Linked DNA regions of Homo sapiens: region 1 is linked to region 2. The links are contacts of gene promoters, found by promoter capture Hi-C in human tissues and cell types (Jung and others, 2019). All regions are on one chromosome and are shown on one strand. Each heading gives the region's core, a stretch centred on a gene start or on the middle of the fragment in contact. The rest is flanking DNA. Distances are from core to core; before and after follow the strand shown. Region 1 has its middle 26 kb from the start of MIR6080. Region 2 holds the start of POLG2 (DNA polymerase gamma 2, accessory subunit).

The links. Contacts are between HindIII fragments. The study calls those that stand out against the background at their distance.
Region 1: a contact is called between a fragment that was not itself captured here and the fragment with the promoter of POLG2 in region 2, in 3 of the 25 tissues and cell types used here (H1 embryonic stem cells, hippocampus and lymphoblastoid cells).

What each region holds. Positions count from the first base shown.
Region 1 is chr17:64,751,562-64,757,013 of GRCh38, forward strand. It overlaps the pseudogene ARHGAP27P1-BPTFP1-KPNA2P3, the pseudogene KPNA2P3 and the pseudogene LOC101929240. Among named protein-coding and RNA genes, the nearest start is that of MIR6080, 26 kb to the right of the region's middle. The HindIII fragment of the contact is 7,908 bases long and covers 1-5,452 here.
Region 2 is chr17:64,493,454-64,499,784 of GRCh38, forward strand. POLG2 (DNA polymerase gamma 2, accessory subunit) reads right to left here and starts at 3,601. Exons shown (of 8, transcript NM_007215.4): 1 at 2,954-3,601. The coding sequence starts at 3,515. DDX5 (DEAD-box helicase 5) reads right to left here. Exons shown (of 13, transcript NM_004396.5): 13 at 4,801-6,331. It also overlaps a transcript of MILR1 not described here. RefSeq lists enhancers at 2,778-3,637, 3,289-3,358, 3,739-3,878. The HindIII fragment of the contact is 4,462 bases long and covers 400-4,861 here.

The DNA.
Region 1 (5,452 bases), core at 1,939-4,438, 260 kb after region 2:
GAGTCTGACATTCTAATAAAATAATTTGTAGAAACCAAAGCTAAATAAATAAATAAATAGATTTTATTACCATCAAGCCAAACATCAGAGGGGCAATAAGTACATTACGTCCTATGCACACTGATATTTTACTATATTTAACAAAGATATGAGGCTCATTTTTAAAAGTATGAGGGAAAAAAGGGCTCATGGCCTTGGCTTTACATTTTTCCAAGTTGTTATTAATATTACCATCCATTACTCACCTCTACAGAGAAATACTTCTCAGTTAAGCTTAATGAAGCCTTATATACAGACTCATTTTCATGGTTTTGTAGAGCTTCAATTTTGTCTACGCCTCCACATTCTTCAATCATTATACTAAGTTTCTCAGTTTCACCTAGTTTCTCAGCAGCCTAAAAAAAAAAAAAAAATCCAAGTTTACTGGCGTATACTCTGAATGTTTTAATGAAGAAAACATCGAAAATTTGAATATTGATATGTCAGGCAGAAATAAGCACCTTAACAGTTCCTTCATCAAGCCTATCATAGTTTTATGTCCATTCTATATTTTGTTGAAACTCAGTGTGATTGGATCTGTACCTACTCTTAGCAGTACTTCGACTGGAGCCAGAGATCTTACAATCAGTAGCTCTCAACCTTTTGTATGTATCAAAATCACATGGGCCACTTTTTTTTCTTTTTTTCTGTTTTCTTTTTTTTTTGAGATGGAGTCTCGCTCTGTTGCCCAGGCTGGAGTGCAATGGCGTGAAGTCGGCTCACTGCAAGCTCCGCCTCCCGGGTTCATGCCATTCTCCTGCCTCAGCCTCCCAAGTAGCTGGATCTATAGGCACGTGCCACCACGCCCGGCTAATTTTTTGTATTTTTAGTAGAGACGGGGTTTCACCGTGTTAGCCAGGATGGTCTCGATCTCCTGACCTCGTGATCCGCCTGCCTCAGCCTCCCAAAGTGCTGGGATTACAGGCATGAGCCACCGCGCCTGGCCAACGTGGGCAACTTTTAAAACAACACTACACTCCAGTTCAACTGGTCTGCTATGGGAACAGGGGCGTATTGTTTCGTAAAGCATCCTATATCATCACAAGGTGTAGTCAAGGTGTCTAAGGGCAAAGATGGCCTATGGAGTGCTAAACTAAATGTCTCCGAACAGAATGTGTGTTGGTATTAAGGATTTACGGGGCACATGGAATGGTATGTAGGTTAGTTTTTCTTTAAATTTTCAACTTTTAAGAGATACATAAATATCTATAGATGAAATAACAGATTTGCTTCAAAATAACTTAGGGGATTAGATGAAGGAAAGAAGAAATACTGGCCACATACTGACAAATTATTTATACACAGTGACAGATACACCAGCATCCATTATTGTAGGCTCAATTTTTTTTTTTTTTTTGAGACAGTTTCACTCTTGTCACCCAGGCTGGAGTGCAATGGCGTGATCTTGGCTCACTGCAACCTCCGCCTCCCAGGTTCAAGCAATTCTCCTGCCTCAGCCTCCTGAGTAGCTGGAATTACAGGCGCCTGCCACCACGCCCAGCTAATTTTTTTAATTTTTAGTAGAGACGGGGGTCTCATTATGTTGGCCAGGCTGGTCTTGAACTCCTGACCTCATGATCCACCCGCCTCGGCCTCCTCAAAGTGCTGGGATTACAGGCGTGAGCCAACATGCCCAGCCTGTAGGCTCAACTTCTATATGTAAAAATTTCTAGAATCCAAAGTTGATGAGAAGGGCTTACCTACCACCAATCACTACGGCAAAGTGCCATATGCTGGTATGCTTGGATCAGTTAGGGGTGGAACCAGAAGAAAAATATAATTAAGTCATTCAAAAAAAATTTTTTTTTGAGACAGAGTTTCACTCTTTCGCCCAGGCTGGAGTGAAGTGACGCAATCTTGGCTCACTGCAACCTCTGCCCCCCACCCAGAGTTCAAGCGATTCTCCTGCCTCAGCCTCCCAAGTAGCTGGGATTATAGGCGTCTGCCACCAGGCCTGGCTAATTTTTGTATTTTTAGTAGAGATAGGGTTTCACCATGTTGGCCAGGCTGGTCTCGAACTCCTGACCTCAGGTGGTCCACTCACCTCAGCCTCCCAAAGTGCTAGGATTACAGGCATGAGCCACTGTGCCCGGCCAAGTCATTCAAATTTAATGTCACCAAAATTCGGTATGAAATTGGGAAATTAAATCAACCAAGTAAACAGGTGTGATGAGTCCACATAAGCGCCTGACTCCGATTCAGTTCGCACCATCCACTTGTCATCTCTTTTATATCTTTTATAATGCCTGCCACATTTTTAATCAAAGGGGTGGCCACATAAACAGGCTTTCTGATTCTGTGGCTTACTAGTGAGTAAACTTACAGCTGCCCTCCCCCAAGTCTAAATAGTAAACCAATTATTATCAAGTCCAAATTCAAACAAAGCCACCTTGATAGGACTTACCTGAAAGATATTTGAAATGGCATCCAGGATAACCAGAATAATCTTGGTATCTTTTGCAGGTAAGAGGTTCATCAACGGTTCTATTATGCCACAGTGAACAAGGTACACAATCTGTTCAACTGTTCCACGGCCCATACAGCTTCCTTTTGTGTCTCAAAATCTGCCAATTAAACATAAGGAAATGGTTTTATTTCAGAACAGTTGCACAAATAAGATTCCAAGAGTACTTTTTCACAAAAACGGTGACTGAAAGTACCAAGGTTCTATTGATACAACCTTAAGTAAAGGGGTTACTGGGTATTGTTCAGCAAAGGACTCCTAGTAGAACCCAAGATTCTTGCACATGAAGAAGCTTATCAAGCACAGCTTTCTATAAATACTAAAAATGACTTGATTAAATCCTAAGACTTCGTTACCTTAGAGAGATCGCTGACAAGGAATGGGACTAATCCATGATTCACAACTTGCTGTATCTGGTCCTGGCGGCTGGCTGTGATGTTTGACATTGTCCACGTAGCTTCCTTCTGAATGTTAGTTTTGGGGTTGGTGAGCAGGCTGGGAAAGACGGCGAGTGCTCCTGCATCAATCACAACCTGAGTCTGTTCATCTGTACCAGTGACGATATTCCCTATGGCTCTTAGGGCAGGAGTCTGAAAAGGAAAAAATGTTGATGCTGGTTACCTTATATTTTTCTCAGCACTTCAGAAATTCTGTACTCCAAAAGTTTTAACAAGAGGCCCAACATGACCTGAAATAGGCAATATTTCAATATTGGTATCAACTGATTATGCTTTTTTTTTTGAGACAGGAGTCTTGCTCTTGTCACCCAGGCTGGAGTGCAATGGCGTGATCTTGGGTCACTGCAACCTCCGCCTCCCAGGTTCAAGCAATTCTCCTGCCTCGGCTTCCCGAGTAGCTGGGATTAAAGCGTGTGCCACCATGTCCGGCTAATTTCTTTGTATTTTTAGTAGAGATGGGTTTTCACATGTTGGCCAGGCTGGTCTCGAACTCCTTACCTCAGCTGATCCACCCGCCTCGGCCTCCCAAAGTGCTGGGATTACAGGCATGAGCTACTAAAAATTTAGACCTACATTTAATTTTGCCTGTTAAACATTCATTATTTTATATGTAGAACAGTTTCCAAACTCGATGTCAGGACTCACTGGAGTCTCAAGTTATGGAGTATCCAAGTGTTTCGTTGCTAAAAAAGGCAGCTTTGAATAATTTAAAAAATGAACTAGAAGGCCAGGCACAGTGGCTCACACCTGTAATCCTAGCACTTTGGGAGGCTCAGGAGGGAGGATGGGTTGAGCTCAGGAGTTCGAGACCAGTCTGAGCAACATAATGAGACCTCCCCTTCTACAAAAAATTAAAACAAAACAAAACAAAAATCCAGGCATGGTGGTGTGTGCCTATCACCATGCAAGACCTTCTCTCAAAAAAAAAAGAATCAGAGCAGACTGAAGATTATTCCTACATTAATCTCAATAACTTGCATTCAGATATACTTTGAGGGAGAAAGACATGAAGTTATAAGCAACATTCTGAGAATTTTGATATCTAATTTTATAATCTATATATTTCCATGGTTGAGTGTTGTTGCAAATATAAATGGGTTATGTGCGGCCAGGTGCAGTGGCTCACGCCTGTAATCCCAGCACTTTGGGAGGCCGAGGCGGTGGATCACCTGAGGTCAGACGTTCGAGACCAGACTGAGAAACATGGTGAAACCCCATCTCTACTAAAAATGCAAAAATTAGCCAGACGTGGTGGCGGGCCCCTGTAATCCCAGCTACTCGGGAGGATGTGGCAGGAGAATCGCTTGAATCCAGGAGGCAGAGGCTGCAGTGAGCCTAGATCGCACCACTGCACTCCAGCCTGGGCAAAAGAGCAAGACCTGTGCCCTGCCCCCCCAACAACAAAAAAATGTTTTATGTTGTGAATCAAAGTAGAAAGGAGGTTTGAGAGCCAATGCTACCCATAATTCAAAAAGCCAGTATCCCTGTCTCTCCAGGAGCTTGACACCTAACAGAAAATGTGACAAGTAGACAAACAGCATAAAACAAGTGGTAAATAGATGGGTTACATAGCATTTACTCCCAATTTTGGGTGCAGAATCAGGGCGCTAGAGAATCCTGAGAAAGGAGTGTCTTTCCTACGAGGCTAAGGAGTGCTATAAGAAGAAGATGAGCTTTGAGTATTAGTACCCTAGAAATAGAACACACGTAGTAGTCAATTGGAAAAAAAAAAAAGATAAATGTGGAGTGCTAAAGGGCTAAAGGAAGCATAACGTGGCTGGGTGCAGTGGCTCACACCTGTAATTGCAGCACTTTGGGAGGCCGAGGCGGGCAGATTACCTGACGTCAGGAGTTTGAAACCAGACTGGCCAACGTGGTGAAACCCTGTCTCTACTAAAAAAAAACAAAAATTAGTTGGGCGTGGTGGCGGCACCTGTAATCCCAGCTATTCGGGAGGTTGAGGCACGAGTATCACTTGAATCCAGGAGGCAGAGGTTACAGTGAGCCAAGATGGCGCCATTGCACTCCAGCCTTGGCAACAGCACGAGACTTTGTCTCAAAAAAAAAAAGGAAGCATATTGTGAGAAAAAGAAGTAGGAAAGTGCCCAGTTATCTTTGGAAGATGAAAGATAAATTTGAAAATCTAAGATAGGTCTACTTTGTGGAAGGCCTTCATGGAGTATGGATTATATTATTATTTTTTAGACAGAGTTTTGCACTTGTTGCCCAGGCTGGAGTGCAATGGTGCGATGGTGCGATCTTGGCTCACTGCAACCTCTGCCTCCCAGGTTCAAGCGATTCTCCTGCCTCAGCTTCCCAAGTAGCTGGGATTACAGGCACCCACCACCACCCCGAGCTAATTTTTTTTTATGTTTAGTAGAGACAGGTTTCACCATGTTGGCCAGGCTGGTCTCAAACTCCTGACCTCAGATTATCCACCCACCTCAGCCTCCCAAAGTGCTGGGATTACAGGCGCAAGCCACCGTGCCTG
Region 2 (6,331 bases), core at 2,351-4,850:
TAGGTAGTTTCACCCTGAGTTTTTAGTTTGAAGATTTTCTTTTTTTTTTGAGATGGAGTCTCGCTCTGTCGCCCAGGCTGGAGTGCAGTGGCAGGGTCTCGGCTCATTGCAACCTCCGCCTCCCGGGTTCATGCCATTCTCCTGCCTCAGCCTCCCGAGTAGCTGGGACTACAGGCGCCCGCCACCACGCCCGGCTAATTTTTTCTGTATTTTTAGTAGAGACGGGGTTTCACCGTGTTAGCCAGGTTGGTCTCGATCTCCTGACCTCATGATCTGCCTGCCTTGGCCTCCCAAAGTGCTGGGATTACAGGCGTGAGCCACCGCGCCCGACAAAGATTTTCAAATCTATAAGAAAGTTGAAAAAATAATAAACATCCATATACAATGAACACTTGTATACCCTTTACCTAGATTCATCAATTATCAACATTTTGCCACATTTTTTTCTTGTTCACTCCCAAATACTGCCGCATACATCTTCTAAAAATAAAAATATTTCCTATATACCATTATAACACCATAAAAAGTTAACCATAATACCACAATATAATCTAACATATGGTGATATTTTAGTTGTTCCAATTTTCACCCCAAATATCTTTTACTGTTCTCTTTCCAGTTAAGATTCATGTACTGCATTCTGAGTAGGTTTCTTTCATCCATTTGAATCTAGAACATTTCCCTTGCCTCCTTTCCCCCTTAATTTTGCTATTAATGACACTGACTTTTGATGTGAGTCCAGGTTAGTCATAGATTGTCTCACATTTGGGATTTGTCTGATTGTTTCCTTATGATTTAATTTCGGCTAATCATTTTTAGCAAAATACTACATAGTAGATGTGTGTATCTTATTGCATCATAACATGAGGAACATGTTATCAAATTATTCCACTACTGAAGACACCAAATTTGATTACTTGGTTAAGGTAGTAAATATCCACTCCCCAATAATATCCTGCTCCCCAACAGTATTTCACCCAGTATTTTAGAATCCATTGATGACTGTTGCTTGAATCAATGATATCGGGGTTTGCAATATCATGAAATGGTGAATTTTCTAATGTATCTTTCCTTCTACATTTATTCCATAGCTTCTGTAAAAACATAAGCTTTCTCTACCTCTTCCCCCCGCCCCCGACCTCTAGGGTCAATTATTTGTTTTTGATTAATACTATTGACTCTTAGATTTTAGTCAATGTGTTATGATCCATTACCATTAATATGTATCTTAATGTTCAATTTGTCCTAGATGTGGCCAGTGACAACCCTCCTCAAGCCAGCATCTGTGACCTTTTTATATGACCCATTAGTCTTCAAGCAATTCTTTGCTTTTTAGCACCATAAAGTGTTTCAAACTCACCTTGTACTTTCCCTAACCCCAGACCCGGAATCAGCCATTTCTCCCAGTACTGGTTCATCTTAGAAACCAAGATCTGGAGGCCGGGCGCAGTGGCTCACGCCTGTAATCCCAGCACTTTGGGAGGCCGAGGCGGGCGGATCACAAGGTCAGGAGATAGAGACCATCCTGGCTAACAAGGTGAAACCCCGTCTCTACTAAAAATACAAAAAATTAGCCAGGCGTGGTGGCAAGTGCCTGTAGTCTAGTCCCAGCTACTCGGGAGGCTGAGGCAGGAGAATGGCGTGAACCTGGGAGATGGAGCTTGCAGTGAGCCGAGATTGTGCCACTGCACTCCAGCCTGGGCGGCAGAGCGAGACTCTGTCTCAAAAAAAAAAAAAAAAGGAACCAGGATCTGGGCACTAGGTGTGCTCATTGCTACTGAGGGTCATTGCTTCTAGGAACTTTAAACGAAGAAAGTTAGGAAATATATTTTTAAAAATCATGAGGCTGGGCACTGTGGCTCACACCTGTAATCCCAGCACTTTGGGGGGCCAAGATGGGCGGATTGCTTAAGCTCAGGAGTTCAAGACCAGCCTGGACAACATGGCAAAACCTCATCTCTACAAAAAACACAAAAATTAGCTGGGTGTGGTGGCATGTGCCTGTAGTCCAGCTACTTGGGAGGCTGAGGTGGGAGGTTCACTTGAGCCCGAGGTCGAGGCTGCAGTGAGCCATGATCACACCACTGCACTCGAGTCTGGGTGACAGAGTGAGACCCATATTCAATTTTAATTTACCAATTCATATTTAATTTACCAATCCATATTTAACATTAGTTTATACGTACCTTCTTTTACATATTATCTCTTCTTTTACAATGAATATCTTGGTTCCTAATAACAACTAACCCAACTATTTGAATTTTTTTTTTTTAAGACGGAGTTTTGCTCTTGTCACCCAAGCTGGAGTGCAGTGGCGTGATCTCGGCTCACTGCAACCTCTGCCTCCTGGGTTCAAGCGATTCTCCTGCCTCAGCCTCCCAAGTAGCTGGGATTACAGGCGCTCGCCGTCACGGCCGGCTAATTTTTGTCTTTTTAGTAGAGACGGGGTTTCACCATGTTGGCCAGGCTAGTCTCGAACTCCTGACCTCAGGTGATCCACCCGCCTCTGCCTTGCAAAATGCTGGGATTACAGGCGTGAGCCACTGCGCCTGGCCTTGATTTATCCTATGATATACATGAAATAGTTTCAGAATTATAATTTCAACATTTTTACTTAGAATAAATCTAAGAAAAGTTCAAAATGTCTGTGTAGTTCCTTATGCACTTAGACTACATTGCACTAAATGACAGCACTGTGTTCAGAAGTTGCCCCGTGAAATTGAGAGCGTTCCCAGGTCCTTCGGACAGATTGTTTAAGGAACAGCAATGATTCCATGGACCAGTTTTCTCCAGGGTAGAGCACTGTTAATATATCCGACTACTTCAAAAAGATGAGAACTAACTAACTTCCTTGCATGGGAATACAGGGCCAGTTGCAATCCCCAAGATCCAGCAAGACTGCCTCGCCTTTCCACCCGACACCTGTTTTGAAGCATGAAATCGTGAAGCATACCGTGAAGAAGGTTCTCCCGTAGTTTCCCAGAAGTTTTTAATACGTTCTCAAGAAATGCTACTAGCTGTTCCTTACTCAGCTCTTTGTCTTGCAAGATTTCGCGTAGAGTTTCTGCAGAAACTAACCTGAAGGCACTGTCCCCGGGTAGCAAAGGGCCTGGTTTGTGGTGGAGGGCGTCCACCGGGAATACCTGCTCCCTGAACACCACCACCGAGGTCCACCATTCTGCGGCCAGGTTCTTCCGCAACTCTACGCCCAAGGGTCCGAAGCCGGGGTGGCACCCACTCAGAAGAGAATCCCGGCTAAGCTGCTGCTTGCTTCCACTTAGGAAATGCCTTCTCTGACAGATCTCTAACAGCGCCTCGCTTCCCTCTCCAGACCCGGGGGCTTCTGGGTGCTCGCCGTTCCCCTCGAGCTCCGCGTGCGACTTCACATGCCCTCCTTTGGGGCTACTCCTTTCCGTCAACAGCTCCGGCTGCCCCGCATCTACTCGACCCCCAAACCCAGACAACAGGCACCTGCAGACCTTATGGCAGGCCCTGACGGCTACACGAGAGCGCATCTCTCTCCGAAGTTAAAGAGCACACTCTCCCATCACTCAACGGATCCCAACAAGCCACCACTACCGTTAACAGAATCCGGAGAGGCCACGGCGCAGGCGCAACGGAGGTGAGCGTGCTTGCGGGCGGCAGGCCCCACCCCGGAAGCGCATGTCTGCGTTCCGGCCGCAGCCGTCCCCCGCCCACCATGGCGGACGCCGGCTCGGATGGTTCTCTGCTAGCTTGCCGTTCGCGTCGCGCCCCTCCCTTCAGATTGACTTTTTTCTTTCCTCGTAAGCACCAGTAAAGGTTATTCCCACCTATTTATAACCGTGGTGTAGCCACTTGAGTCACTTCCTTCTGCCACTGTTTTGCAGTCCAGAAAATTAAAATACTTCAGTATTATCCAAATCACCTTCTATATACACCTCAATCAAGCACTTGGACTAAATTTGGCATTTGGTTTCCCTTTAAACAGTTTTAGTCCTTTACGGTGATTTGTAAGCCCAGGCCTTCTTAACTAGGCAAATGCTGCCGCCAGGTGGCCTAGGCCTAACCCCAGAGCCGTTGTCTTGACGCTTAAGCTTCCGGGGAGGGGGGCGATAGGCTTCGTGACTAGGGTAGTGGTATGGTCACTTTAAATATTGCAGTGGCTTCCAAAGGGCAGTCCCCAGCCAGCAGCATCTGCCTCACCTGGGAATGCACTAGAAATAAACCAAGGGGCCCTGACATGTCTTAAACCCTCCTGGTGTCAGAGAAAACCACGTACGTGCAATTTCTTCCAGGGGCCCCTTCTATGGGTTCATCAAAACAATGAGACTTGTGACTGTTATTATTAAGAGACTCATGATTAAATTGCAGGTTTCTGATTTTGCAGTTTCTATTTAAATAGGTCGAGACCTTAAGACCTACCCAGAAAGTGGAAAAGTGGTATACCCAGACTGAGGAAGTTTGATTCCAAAGTCCATGATTTCTTATACCAGCCTCAGTTACGAAAACCTTTAAAGAGGTTCAGGGAAAAAGGAACAATCTACATTTCACTGTGAGACTACCAAACTACTACCTGATTAAGAGGGGTAACAGCTTAGCAATTGAGTTAATGTAATTCAGGAGTAAAGTTTTATCATTAGTAAAGTGCTGTACCAGGTTCAGGAAATAGTTCTTCTTTACAAGTGTATACAAGGGTTTAAAAAAAGGCCAGCTAGATAGTAATTAACTGCAAAGCTGGGTACTACTGCCAGGTGTTTTCCACATTCAGGAACTCACACCAGGTAAAAGGCCTATACGCAAATAAATAAAAAGAGAGAATGGGGAGAAAAATCACATTTATTAGTTAAGACGACCACAGGCTGGACACAACACACATGCTAAAAAGTGGACTGTCTTTTAAAACTTCCAAGGTAAATAGGTAAATGTTTTCCACAGCCCAACAATCATTTCAGTGTTTACAAATTAAAAGGCCCACGGTTAAGACATTAAACAGTAAAATATGTAATAAATGCTCCAACCTACCCTCTCCCCCGAAAGCTGCTTCTAAGTTTAAAACCATGAATTTGACTAACCATGCCATTGAAAACCATCCAGGTTACTACAGGCTGAATTAGTTTTCAATGTCTAAGTCCTAGAAATATCACTCCCTATCCCAGCCCTAGCAAATTCTAACTTTACATTTGACATAAGGCATTAACATCAATTAAAGCCTCAGTTTAATAATCAGAATTTAAATGAAGTCTCCTGAAGACCTCTCTTCTGGCAAAAAAAAACACGTATCAGACTCTGGGAAAACATTCAGACCCACTTCTAGCTATTACTGAAATAAATGATTAGAAAGTTACGTTGGTGAGCCGAAGTTAAACCTAAAGCTATCCCCTGGATCTTTCTAGCAATAAACCCATGTTGAACCTACCATGAAAACTTTCATTCACTGTGCTTTTGGTTACGTTGCCTCCTGATTAGTCATTAATTTTAATGAGGTTTTTTCCTTGTGTTGAGTATGAATAGACCTTACAGTTTGAGGATCTCTAGAATTCCCTGAATTATTGGAAAGACATTCATGACTCCCAGTGTGACTAGTTAAGAGCCCCAGGGAGCCTGTGAAGACTAGAATCTACAAGTAACCTGCACTAAGAACGAAATTCAGTAAAGGAGACTCAAGCTTAGCTCCTGGCCATCTTAAAGGGCTAATGTATGTCTTTCACAGGTTTGTTCAACATTTCAGTAATTCACAGTATAGCCAAGAGCATGAGTATAAGTCTCTTGAAAAAGCCAGTTATTTGGAGCTTTTTAAATTATAAACTTTGAAAAAGTCACCCACGTTCTCACACTATATAGATGACTTTGTATCTATTTTACTATTTTCTCATTTAACCATACTAGCAAATAAGGAAAAAGGCTATTAAATGACTCCCCTGATGCTGGAAGCTGACAAAGCTTTTATGCAATTTAGCCTGTAACTAAAAATTCACCTGTATCAATTCATTCTGACTCCTGCAATATGAATAGCTCATTATAAAGAAGGGCCTTCTGATTCCCCCTGCCTCCCAAATTAAATAAAAAGGAACAGTCATTTGTTTTCATGGAAAAAAAAAACCAAACAAAAACAAAAAAAAAACCAGACCATCTTAAGCAAAGTTTTACATGACATTATATAAAATAAAGTACAATTTCCACTTAATTCAGTCTTCAAATATTTTTTATTGGAAGGCCATGCATTGCCTTCATTTATTGTATTTCAAATCACTGTACATTTACTTTTGTGAAAACACTGCCTGCATTTTCTAGTACAAAAAAAACCTAAAAATTGTTTCAGGAATGTAGAGAAATATCCAACTTAAATAGC